Regions from separate parts of the Homo sapiens genome. Here region 2 is linked to region 1. The links are contacts of gene promoters, found by promoter capture Hi-C in blood cells and fetal thymus (Javierre and others, 2016). All regions are on one chromosome and are shown on one strand. The core of a region is centred on a gene start or on the middle of the fragment in contact, and the rest is flanking DNA. Distances in the headings are between cores, read along the strand shown. Region 1 holds the start of HSPD1 (heat shock protein family D (Hsp60) member 1). Region 2 overlaps STK17B (serine/threonine kinase 17b).

The links. The method cuts DNA at HindIII sites, captures the fragments that hold promoters and counts their contacts. A CHiCAGO score of 5 or more calls a contact.
Region 2: a contact is called between a fragment that was not itself captured here and the fragment with the promoter of HSPD1 in region 1, in 1 of 17 cell types (fetal thymus). The highest score is 5.9, in fetal thymus.

Annotation. Positions count from the first base shown.
Region 1 is chr2:197,495,615-197,501,089 of GRCh38, forward strand. It overlaps HSPD1 (heat shock protein family D (Hsp60) member 1), which reads right to left and starts at 4,226. Exons shown (of 12, transcript NM_002156.5): 1 at 4,168-4,226; 2 at 3,061-3,236; 3 at 1,526-1,778. The coding sequence starts at 3,234. HSPE1-MOB4 (HSPE1-MOB4 readthrough) reads left to right here and starts at 4,765. Exons shown (of 9, transcript NM_001202485.2): 1 at 4,765-4,825; 2 at 5,460-5,475. The coding sequence starts at 4,823. HSPE1 (heat shock protein family E (Hsp10) member 1) reads left to right here and starts at 4,765. Exons shown (of 4, transcript NM_002157.3): 1 at 4,765-4,825; 2 at 5,460-5,475. The coding sequence starts at 4,823. RefSeq lists silencers at 4,106-4,435, 4,626-4,685 and an enhancer at 4,826-4,885. The HindIII fragment of the contact is 3,758 bases long and covers 2,885-5,475 here.
Region 2 is chr2:196,162,485-196,167,840 of GRCh38, forward strand. It overlaps STK17B (serine/threonine kinase 17b), which reads right to left. Exons shown (of 8, transcript NM_004226.4): 2 at 778-943. The coding sequence starts at 899. Among named protein-coding and RNA genes, the nearest start is that of STK17B, 6.4 kb to the right of the region's middle. RefSeq lists an enhancer at 4,677-4,746. The HindIII fragment of the contact is 905 bases long and covers 3,195-4,099 here.

The DNA of each region.
Region 1 (5,475 bases), core at 2,976-5,475:
CCACCATGCTCAGCTTCTTTTATTTTTGTAGACAAGGTCTCACTATGTTGCCCAAGGTGGTCTTGAACTCCTGGGCTCAAGCAATCCTCCCACCTCAGCTTCCCATGTAGCTGGGACTACAGGCATGTACCTATGCTTGGTCTTTAGTGCCTTAATATTAAATTTACACACAGCTTCTGAGACAGTGCTTCTTAATAACACAGAGTTGCGTGGCATGTACTTAAACAGTAACTTTAGGTTCACACAGTAAATAAAATCTCACAATGCCAAAATTTTGAAAATAGGACTAAAACAAGGTAGATGTGTGTAGTTTCAAAAGTCTCACCACTGAACTCATCCTATGCAAATTCCTAACCCAATCATGCTGTTTCCAATAGGGTCCACGACACTTCTCATGTCCATTAGATGATGCAAAAAAGGACCAAAATGGCTAACACTCCCTTATTTTCAACAAGAAGTACAGTTCTTAAATGATAGGAATCTGTTGTGACTATGCCTCTGCAGGTGTCAATTATCTGAAATCCCCTCAATTTAGTACGTATTATGAACTAACAAAATATTTTTGTTTTACATCAGTCTTAATAGTCCCATTTTGCTCAATTGGGAATAGTGCTAGCTCTCTTGTTTGAGAACTGTTACTTCAAAAAAAATCCAATGCAAGGTGCTGGTAAGTCCTCTTCATAACCTTAATTAATACTTGTTAGTGATTTACAGTAAAACTGCTTTTAGTGAAGTATATTCACTTGGCCCATAAACACTGAAATAGATGAGGTAATGATACATTAGTAATGTAGTAATAAATTAGTATGCCAATTCTGACAAAAAATTACCAATAGCTCCCCCCACCTTCACTTACAAGAGGGTTCCTGGTTTGAACCCTAACATACCCTAGATATACATAGCAATTCTGCTGATAGGAAAACCAAGTCTTAGCACACAGCTAATAAATGACAAACATGGGACTAGAATTTAAGTCTATACTGCCATGAACCTCATGAGGAGGAGCAAATTGTTAATTAAGTTGCACTCTAGTTACAAGCACTAACAAAACACAAACCAATAACATGGTGTGTGCTATTAAGAAAAAATAAACTGAGGAAAACATTACTTTCTGACATTCTGAATGATCCAGTGTATTTAGTCTTACTTTCTACAAAACTAAACTAAAAATTAGCCAGGAATGGTGGTGAGTGCCTGTAGTAGTCCCAGCTACTTGGAGGCTGAGGCAGGAGGATTGCTTGAGCCCAGGAGTTCCAGTGCAGTCCAGCCTGGGCTACAGAGCAAGACCCTGTCTCTAAAAACAAAAGAAACCAACTAAGTAAAATATCAAAATTACCTAACAGTACCTACCCACCATACAGCCAAGCTTGCTAAAGGAAAACCCAGTTTAAGATTTCTCCAGGCCAAGAGGAGGAATGAGAGAAGGATTAATTTCCTCAAGTTAACACTTTCCTTAGGTCCAAGGAATCAATGCCTTAAAGCACACTGAAGTTTAGAACACTGTGGTGACAACAGACATTCCTACCTCTCCTGATTTCCACTGGATTAGCACCTTTGCTAATCTTCTCGAAGCCTTCCTTGGCTATAGAGCGTGCCAGTACAGTAGCAGTGGTAGTGCCATCCCCAGCTTCTTCATTTGTGTTATTGGCAACATCTTGAACAAGTTTAGCTCCAATGTTTTTGTATTTATCTTTTAAGTCAATTGACTTTGCAACAGTCACACCATCTTTTGTTACTTTGGGACTTCCCCAACTCTGCTCAATAATCACTGTTCTTCCCTAGAAGAAAAAAATGTAACAGGATCAGACATACCCTAAGGATGATTTACATTTTTAAAAATGAGCAGTCTTCATAATAAAGCAACTACTTCAAAGTCTCAACGTAAGTTGTGTCATTTTTATCAGTCTTGCAGCATGAACCTCAAGGGCAAGTTTATCGACATTCTTTGTCTACAGACAAAATGACCTGATTCTCTGCCAAGAGCATAATTTTGAACTAGGTAATTTAGGAGATTAAAATCCTAGGGACTAAAACTTGTCATCTTATAAAATGAACAAGAACACAAGACAAAGAATAAAACAATCTTCCTATCACTTATACTTTAGTTAGTGCCTGTTATCTTTTAAAGTAATGTGACTTGTTTTAAAATCCGTTTAACTAAAATATTAACCATCAAGGCAAGTAGCGTGCTCTTCCAGGTTCACGCAACATAAAACTTCAACCATGGCACAATTATTGGCCATCCTTTGGATTTGAACTAAAGCTGCTACTTTCTATTTGTGAGGTGTGCAAATGTTGTATTTTAGGCAGTTGTTGGATCACTTGATATCTGAACTGTCTTCAAACTGAAATGAAGCACCACTTGACTGCACACCACCTTCAAAGGCCTCCTCAAAACATTACCCCTATTAAATGAGACTTATTTTAAATATGCTTTGGAACAAGAGAACAGCAGAAAACCGATGGGTAAAACTAGCATCTTGGGGTGGAGGAGAGAATGGGAAGCTACTGTCTAATGAGTACAAAGTTACAATTTTTCCATATAAAAAGTTTTGGAGATGGATGGTGGTGATGACTGCACAACATAAATGTAATTGATGTCCCCAAAGTGCACACTTAATGGTAATTTTATGTTGTGTACATTTTACTACAATAAACCAAAAAAAAATTTAGCATCTACAAGCACATACCTAAGGAATTATGGAAGATAAGTTAAACTCTTCTCTCTACACTTGGCATGAACTACTGGGAAAGGATCCAAATTTTAACTTAAGCCAGCGAAATTCTACCTCGAGTTTAAGAATCCACCTTGAGCTGTAAGTTACTACCTGATTACATCACACATTGAACAAAATAGTTTCGAAAATCTGGCTGAAGCAGTTTAAGCTTTAAGATCATGTCTAAGAAAAAAAGGCTAACCAATACTTCAGAATTCTTACATGTAAACTGAGTTCTCTCAAAAATGGAGATGAAAGTACTGTTGAATAGTTCAGTGCGACTATTTGTGAGTAAAATGCTATTAATAATACCGTAATTACAATAAAATAAAAATACTGGTACCTTTGGCCCCATTGTAACGGCCACAGCATCGGCTAAAAGGTCTACACCTTGAAGCATTAAGGCTCGGGCATCTGCACCAAATTTTACATCTTTGGCATAAGCCCGAGTGAGATGAGGAGCCAGTACCCTGGACACCGGTCTCATCTGGCGAAAGACTGTGGGTAACCGAAGCATTTCTGGGGATGGAAGCAAAAAGATCATCAGAACTACCACCCGTGGTGCGCTGCAGAACAAACATGCCCACCTGTGCAACAGAGCAAGCAACGTGAGATGCTGAGCCTGGCTGACCTCCGCCAGCCACTACGCCTGAATGACGGAAGGCGCCGCAGCTTCGGAACATCAGCCACTAGCGCAAGCTAAAGAGGCCGCCCCGGCCGGCGCCTGACCTATAGCACCAGCACAAAGCACATGCGGCTCCTTCCCCACGGCCACCTATCCCTGCCGCCAAAAACGAGTTAATCTTTCACCGCGAAAACGGCCTTGTGGGCAGACCCACTCCAACTGTGGCCCCTGAGAAACCAAGTCAGCCGGAGAGAGGCAAGTTACAAATCCAAGTGACCAGGGAAGTTAAAAGTATTCCTGACGGTGCAAAAAGCCGCTCAGCAAAGTGTCTCCATGGATCCACCCAAGGCTACTGTATCAGAGCAACCAGCAAGGCCGCGATGCTGGGGGCGGCGGCCCGGCCCACTCGGCGCGAGCCCACGTGTCCTTCTTTCCGAACGCCCCCAGCAAGGTCAAGACTGGAGGCGCGGTATCCCAGCTGCCTGCGGGGGAAAAAAGCGGTTCCCTCACGTACACCACCCTCCCCGGTTCCCTGAAGTCGGCCAGGCGCAGGTTGCACCAGCGGGCCTAAGTGGTTACAATCCCCCAAATTCAAACCCCACGAGTTGTCCCTCCCGCGCCCAGCCGAGGTCCAGGATCCGCGTCGCACGTGATGGAACCCGCATGGACCCGCGAGGCCTGGACCCGCAGGCCTGGGCCTGCGGTGCGGCGCGGTGCGGAACTCCAGGTTGTCGCCGCCCGCACCCTCCAGCTGGACCGCAGAGGAGGAAGGCCCACTCGGGGGTCGCAGGAGCCGGGGGGAGGTGGTGCGGGAAGGCCGCGTACCTGCGGGGCGGCGGCAAGGCGTGCGCTCGGCGAGACAGGTCGTCGGCGGCGAGTGAGGGACAGAGTGCAGGGCGCACACCGCAATGAGCCCGTGTCCCCTCCCTCCGCCTCTACTCCCGCCCCGCGGCACCGCGTGTGCAGGCAGCTCCCACCCACTTCCCGTCAGCCCGGGCCCTGCAATCTGCACACCCTGCGCGCGAGCCCCGCCCCTCCCTACCCGCGCAGGGTGTGCTAGCGCGCTCAGCCCTCTCCGGCCGGCTTAGTCTAGTTCCCGGGCCTCGCTCGGTTCCAGAACTTTCCAGAAAATGCCGCGCTCCCTACGGCTCAAGGGTCAAATCGCGTCATTTCCGGGAGGGGACGAAGGGGTAGTTCTTTCACCTCGGCTGGGCGCCTAGAAAAGCCTAGAAACAGCTCCTTTTTTCTTCCGCCTCCGAGTCTTCGCGTCAGCGTCCTGCGCAGGGCCCTTGGGGCGAATCGCGGTGCGCGTCGGGGCGACCGCCCTCCCTCCCTGGGAGGGGCGAGGGGGCTAGCGGCGACCGCTGGGGCGAGCGCGCCTGCGCGCTGGGTGATTTTTTCACGTGTCGCCAGGGCCGGACTGCGAGTCTCTTTGCGGCGCTACACTAGAGCAGAGTACGAGTCTGAGGCGGAGGGAGTAATGGTGAGTCCCGCGTGGCCCCGAGGCCTGCAGGCCCGGGCCTGTCTGAGGCGTACGGGGATCCCTGACGCCCCTCTTTTGTTGGGCTGGGCGGGAGGGATTGGTGGCCACTCAGTGACCAGCGCCCGATGGCACCTTGGAGCGGCAAGGCCCGCCCGACCCTTTTCTCCCCCAGGGCTCTTTGCACGCGCGTGTGCTGCCGGTGTGTAAGGCAGGGGGGCGAGAACCCGGGCGCACGCGCAGCGTCTCACCTGCTTCTGCAGGGCCTTTGTGGATGTGTAATATCTTGGGTAAAAATCATGGTGCCAGGCAGGGAGCTTGACCCAGCGTTTCCTGAAAATTTCTGGAAAAACCTGAAGAAGGAAAACATTTGACCTTGGAATAAACTAAGGTTGACCTTAAAGCTGGTCTGGTTGCTCACCGGAGGAGCGACAACGACCCCTAACAGACGTAAGGAATCGGGAATTAAACTTGGAATATTGGTTAGTACATTCAAATGCGCTTCCTTAACGAATAAGCTGAGGTTTGGTGTTAACTTTCAAAGCCAAAACGTGTTGAGATGTATAGCACGGTGGCGTTGCCTGTTGATAATGTGATTACATTTAGTTTTTGTTTCAAAACATTTCTCTTCCTACAGGCAGGACAAGCGTTTA
Region 2 (5,356 bases), core at 2,397-4,896, 1.3 Mb before region 1:
TACAGAGCACTGTACTAGGCACTTTACAAATATTAACTAACTTAATCCTCATAACAACCATATAAGACAGACACAATTATCTTCACCCCTACTTTTCAGATGAGGAAACGACAGCACTAAGAGGTACAGTAGGCAGGGCGCAGGGGCTCACACCAATTATCTCAGCACTTTGGGAGGCCACGGCCAGAGGATTGCTTGAACCCAGGAGTTGGAGACCAGCCTGGGCAACATGGAGAAACCCTGTCTCTACAAAAAACCAGCCCAGTGTGGTGGTGTGTGCCTGTAGTCCCAGCTACTTAGGAGGCTGAGGTGGCAGATCCCTTGAGCCCAGGAGACAGGAGGTTGCAGTGAGCCAAGATCATGTCACTGCACTCCAGCTTGAGCAACAGAGTGAGACCCCGCCACAAACAAAAATTAAAAAAAGAGGTACAGTTATTTAGTTGAAGTCACACACCTAGTAACTGGTGGAGTCCAAACTTGAACTCGGCAGTCCACTATGCTGAGCTGCCTCTTCCCATGCACAGCCTCATGTAACGACAGAGACCTCCTATCAGAGGCTCTGAGGCTAGGTAGGATGTATGATTTAAGTTCACTAAACCCTCCACAGATTTGATTTTCAAGTCAGTTAAGACTGGACCCTAGGTAACAGCAACAGAGATCACAACTTTCCTTCCTAATCATTGTTAAATAATGATCCCAAGTGAGTTTTATAGAATTATAAAAACACAAATCCAAAATTTGAATTTAGATGGCATACACGTCATATGGTTTTCTTACCTCCCTAGCTCTTTAGATGTAAGTATATAGAAATTATTAAAGTTTTCCATTTTTATTGGAATTTGAGGAGTTGTAGTTAGTAGGCCTGAAATACTTCGGCAATCAAATCTCCTCCTCGACATGTTAGGTGATTCCCAGGTCTGCTTCTTTAGTCACTTATTTTTACCTATGCAAAAAAAGAGAATACAGAGAAAAGATGTTATCTCAGGCAGGATGTGCATTACATTACACAGCTCCAAATATAGCTATAAAATACAACTAAAAAAAAAAAAGATTTAAAGAGCACATTCTATCCACAAGGAGGAAAAAACAAAAAGCATACACATAAACCATAATAACACTATGGCACTTGAACGAAGTTACTGACTTCATTTCAGAATAAAACTACGGTAAAAATCCTCTCAATTTAAAAAAAATAGTTATGATAAAATTATAATGCAAACAATCACTTAGTTTCATCATAAAACTCCATTCTTTAAAGTTATAGAGGTTTCAGCTGGACATGGTGGTATACGCCTATAATCCCAGCACTTTGGGAGGCTGAGGCAGGAGGATCACTTGAGGCCAGAAGTTCAAAACCAGTCCTGGCAACATAGCGAGATCCCATCTCTATGAAAAAATTTAAAAATTAACTGGGTGTAGTGGCTCGCACCTGTAGTCCCAGCTGCTTGGGAGGCTGAGGCAGGAGCATCACTTGAGCCCAGAAGTTTGAGGTTGCAGTGAGCTATGAATGTGCTACTGCAGTTCAGTTTGGGCAATAAAGCGAGATCTTATCTCAATAAATAAATAAATAAATAAATAAATAAATAAATAAAGTTATAGGTTTCACATAATAGGTAATTTAATACGACAAGATAATAATTATTCATTTTAAACTTATTTTCACATGGCTAAAGAAATTTGGTGGTAAATGCACATATTGTGAGTTATATTACTGACGTGAAGGACTACAAGAAATAGAACTTCTTCCACGGATTGGCTATGTTTCAGTACTAAACTCAGAAACTCTCAAAGGTCTTAAGAGTCCCTCCTTTGACAGGACCTAGCACAGAGCCTGCTATGTATGAAGTGCTCAATAATTTTGTTGGAAGAGTGACTAACCTATACATAAAGCTTTATTTCGAAGTTCTGTATCTGAAGCTCATATATGTATCTGGAAATTTGTGATGTTTATATGCATTCAGTGTTATCAAAACTATTATATTAATTGCATTCATAAAACAATAACAGATACTATATTTCAAGACACTTATGACTTATTGCTATGCCTACTTAATAAAATATCAATTATTATTCTTTTAGCACCCTCCTGTAGTAACCCGCTAAGCATTTGTTCCTCCTCTGACATCTTTTTTTCCTATTTTCTACTTATATGTACTGTTCTTTATCTTCTTAAATTCAAATGCCAACTATAGTCTACTTAGCCAAAAAGCAGTGTCATTAGAGTTCAGCGTTTTCAGTTTCTACATTTTCTCTTCTTGGTGTTATTCTCAAATTATGAACGCGTCACTGCAGTTCAGCCTGGGCGATAGATGGAGACCTTGTCTCAAAAAATTAAATTAAAATTATAGCTTTCACATAACTAGATAGTAAAATTGTTTTCTCTACATCTCTTAGTCTTTGGGGAAACAGCTCTAACTAGTTTTGGGGTACATCTCTAGGAGTCAAAGGGTTGTAGTGTAGCATTCTGAGAATAACCTTTAGACTGAAAGACACCTGGGTCTGAATTCCATTCATCCATCATACCAGCTATGAGACCTTAATTAAATTATTTAACTTTGCTATTGTTATGGGCTGAATTGTGTCCTCCCCCAAATTCCTAAGTTGAAAAACCCTAACCCCTGTATCTCATAATGTGACTGTCTTTGGAGACAGGGCCTTTAAAAAGGTGATTAAGTTAAAATGAGGTCATTAAAGTGGGCCAATTAGGACACAGACACACACAGAGGAAAGACTATGTGAACACACTAGGAGAAGGCAGCCATCTACAAGCCAAGAGGGCAGGCCTCAGAAGAAACCAACCCCGCAGACACCCTGATCCCAGATTTCTAGCCTCCAGAATCGTTGAGAAAATATACTTCTGTTAAGTCGCCTGATCTGCGGCAACACAGTTATTTAAAAAGAAAACAAAATATATAATATTTCAAATGTAAGATAAGGAACACTATATACAAACATTTACTTTCCAATCTTATTACTTGGTCATATTTCATTTAAATTAAAAATAAAACATATTAGACATAGCCCCTTCTTTCCACCCCCAGTTTACACTCCCACTAGCACTGGATGGGACGGTTTATCACTACTTTGACAATACTTGCCCAATTCAGACTTTTAAGTTTGGCTATTCTAGTGTGATGAAGGTGAAATGGAATTTTGTTGTGATTTACTTCGCATTCCCTTTTACTGGTGAAGAAAGCTTCGATTTTGCTGCCTCTAAAGTATGGATGATAAAAGAATTGATCTTCCAGTGCTGCAAGGATTAAAAATTAAAATATGCTGAACTCATGTCCACTGACACAGGTACAGTGCAAGTCACAAGGGCATATCGCTATTGTTCCACAAAACAAAATTAACATTCTACCCAAAAATACTCTCCCTGCAGTTCCCTGCCATTGTTGAACAGCTGTACTGTTTCCATGTACAAAATTCTCATCCCAACTTAGTCTAAACTTCATTCTTAAAAGTATTTTTGTTTTCTGTTTTAACTACTTATGTATCTTCTTAGTTCTGATAGCGCTCAGTTTCACTGATTTTTTTCCATTGTTCTGAAAGATCAATATGGGTACCAATTTCCTCATAAGTTCATCTATTTATTAAAAATATACCTACATCACAAGCTGCTTTAGGCATCCATTAAGCATTTCTTAAGTTCATTTTCCTTTTATTTACTGCATCTGAACCAATTGTCAGAGCCAAGATATTTTTCCATTTCCTCTCCTTTGGCCAGTTTTGCATATAGTGGAGCATGAATGTCACCTTTGTCCACCAAGCCCTCCTCAAACATCTGGTTGCCCTTCATATAAGGTACATGCAGGTTATGAGTCAGCTCTCTGTCGCTCCTTCTTGTATCTTCCTAAATTTCCCACCAAATTCTCTTTAACTCCAACAATTCCCAGGCCTTTTCTTGTCTTCTACCACACTTCATATTACCGATTCTAAATTACCTATATGTCTCACTCCATTTGAAATTCATTTCATAACATTTTATCAGGTTATAGCATTTAAAAAAAATCTTAAGGGACCTGGTAAGTAAATTTATATGCATGTGTATACACGATTAGATCCTATAAAAAGTGTAATAGAAGGTAAGACACAATTAAGCTTTTAATCACACAGTACTACTACAAATAATGGTATCTCACTTATTTTTAAAGATTTTTTTCATTAATTCTCATTATAATAATTACCAAAAGAATTTGGAAGTAGATCAGTGAAGGAAGGAAAAGAAGGAAATGTTAGGCTTGATCTGGGCCTTCACTTACTTGAATGCAGAAAGCAAGTGTGATGTGAACAAAAGCAAGACTATCTCTATAAACCTCTAGCTCTATTTTAAAAAGTATTTATCATGATATTTATTTCAAAATTATCAAATAAGAAAGTTTTTAAAAAATAGAATATACAATAATAAAGACATTTAGAAAATCAAATTGTCTGTTTTGATTCCTTCATTAGCTCCCCAGTATCTACAAGCTTTCAAGTACTTACAGCATGACACATAAAGGCCTCTGAGGCCAAGTATACACCAGCTACATTTCCTGCCGCACTCATATTTCATATTTTGCCACCACATCTTTGTTATACTTCTTTGCCTGAAAAAGCCTTTCTACTTTCCTTAAATGGCTAACTCTTCTTACACATCCTTCAAAACTCAACACAGAATGGCCTCTCCCCCAGGAAGCTTTGCCTAAAAACCACAGGCTGATTTAAAGGCTTCTCCTTTATGCTTCAAATAAGAGGATCCTTGGCATACTTCTTTACCTCAAAATGTAACATGTTAGATTGCAATTCTGTTCAGTGTTTAAAGGGCAGCATCCTTTTACTTTTGTGCCTAAGCAACCAGCATGGTATCTGCCACCCGGTAGGAATTTTAAAAATGTTTGATGAACTGAATTGTAAGAATTATGAGATATAGAAAAAAGAATTTGTAGGTATATCTCATGTCTTCGAGGGGTTAGGAGAACTTGAGATCCATCTTGAATTTACAGTACTGGAGCTCTGAATGCAGCTAGTCTCTGCTTAATTCAGCATTTGGACAAATAAAGTAACTATTTTAAATTGCACTTACAAAATGTCAGTTCTAAACAGGTAGCCACAAAGTCTGGAAACACAGATAAAATTATTTTGTCATATACTATAATGTAATGCCAATAGACCTTTTGTTTTTACCACTGTTTCCAGACAAGGTGGCTACTTGTTTTTAATATAAGCTACTAATACAAATACCTACTGCAGTTAAGAACATCACTCTTTTAAGAGCCTCCAAAAATCAGGAGATTCAGGTAAGTGTCCTATCAAGATTTATCACTGATAAGTCTAGATCATCATGAAGTACATTGGAAAGGCAACAGGAAGCAAA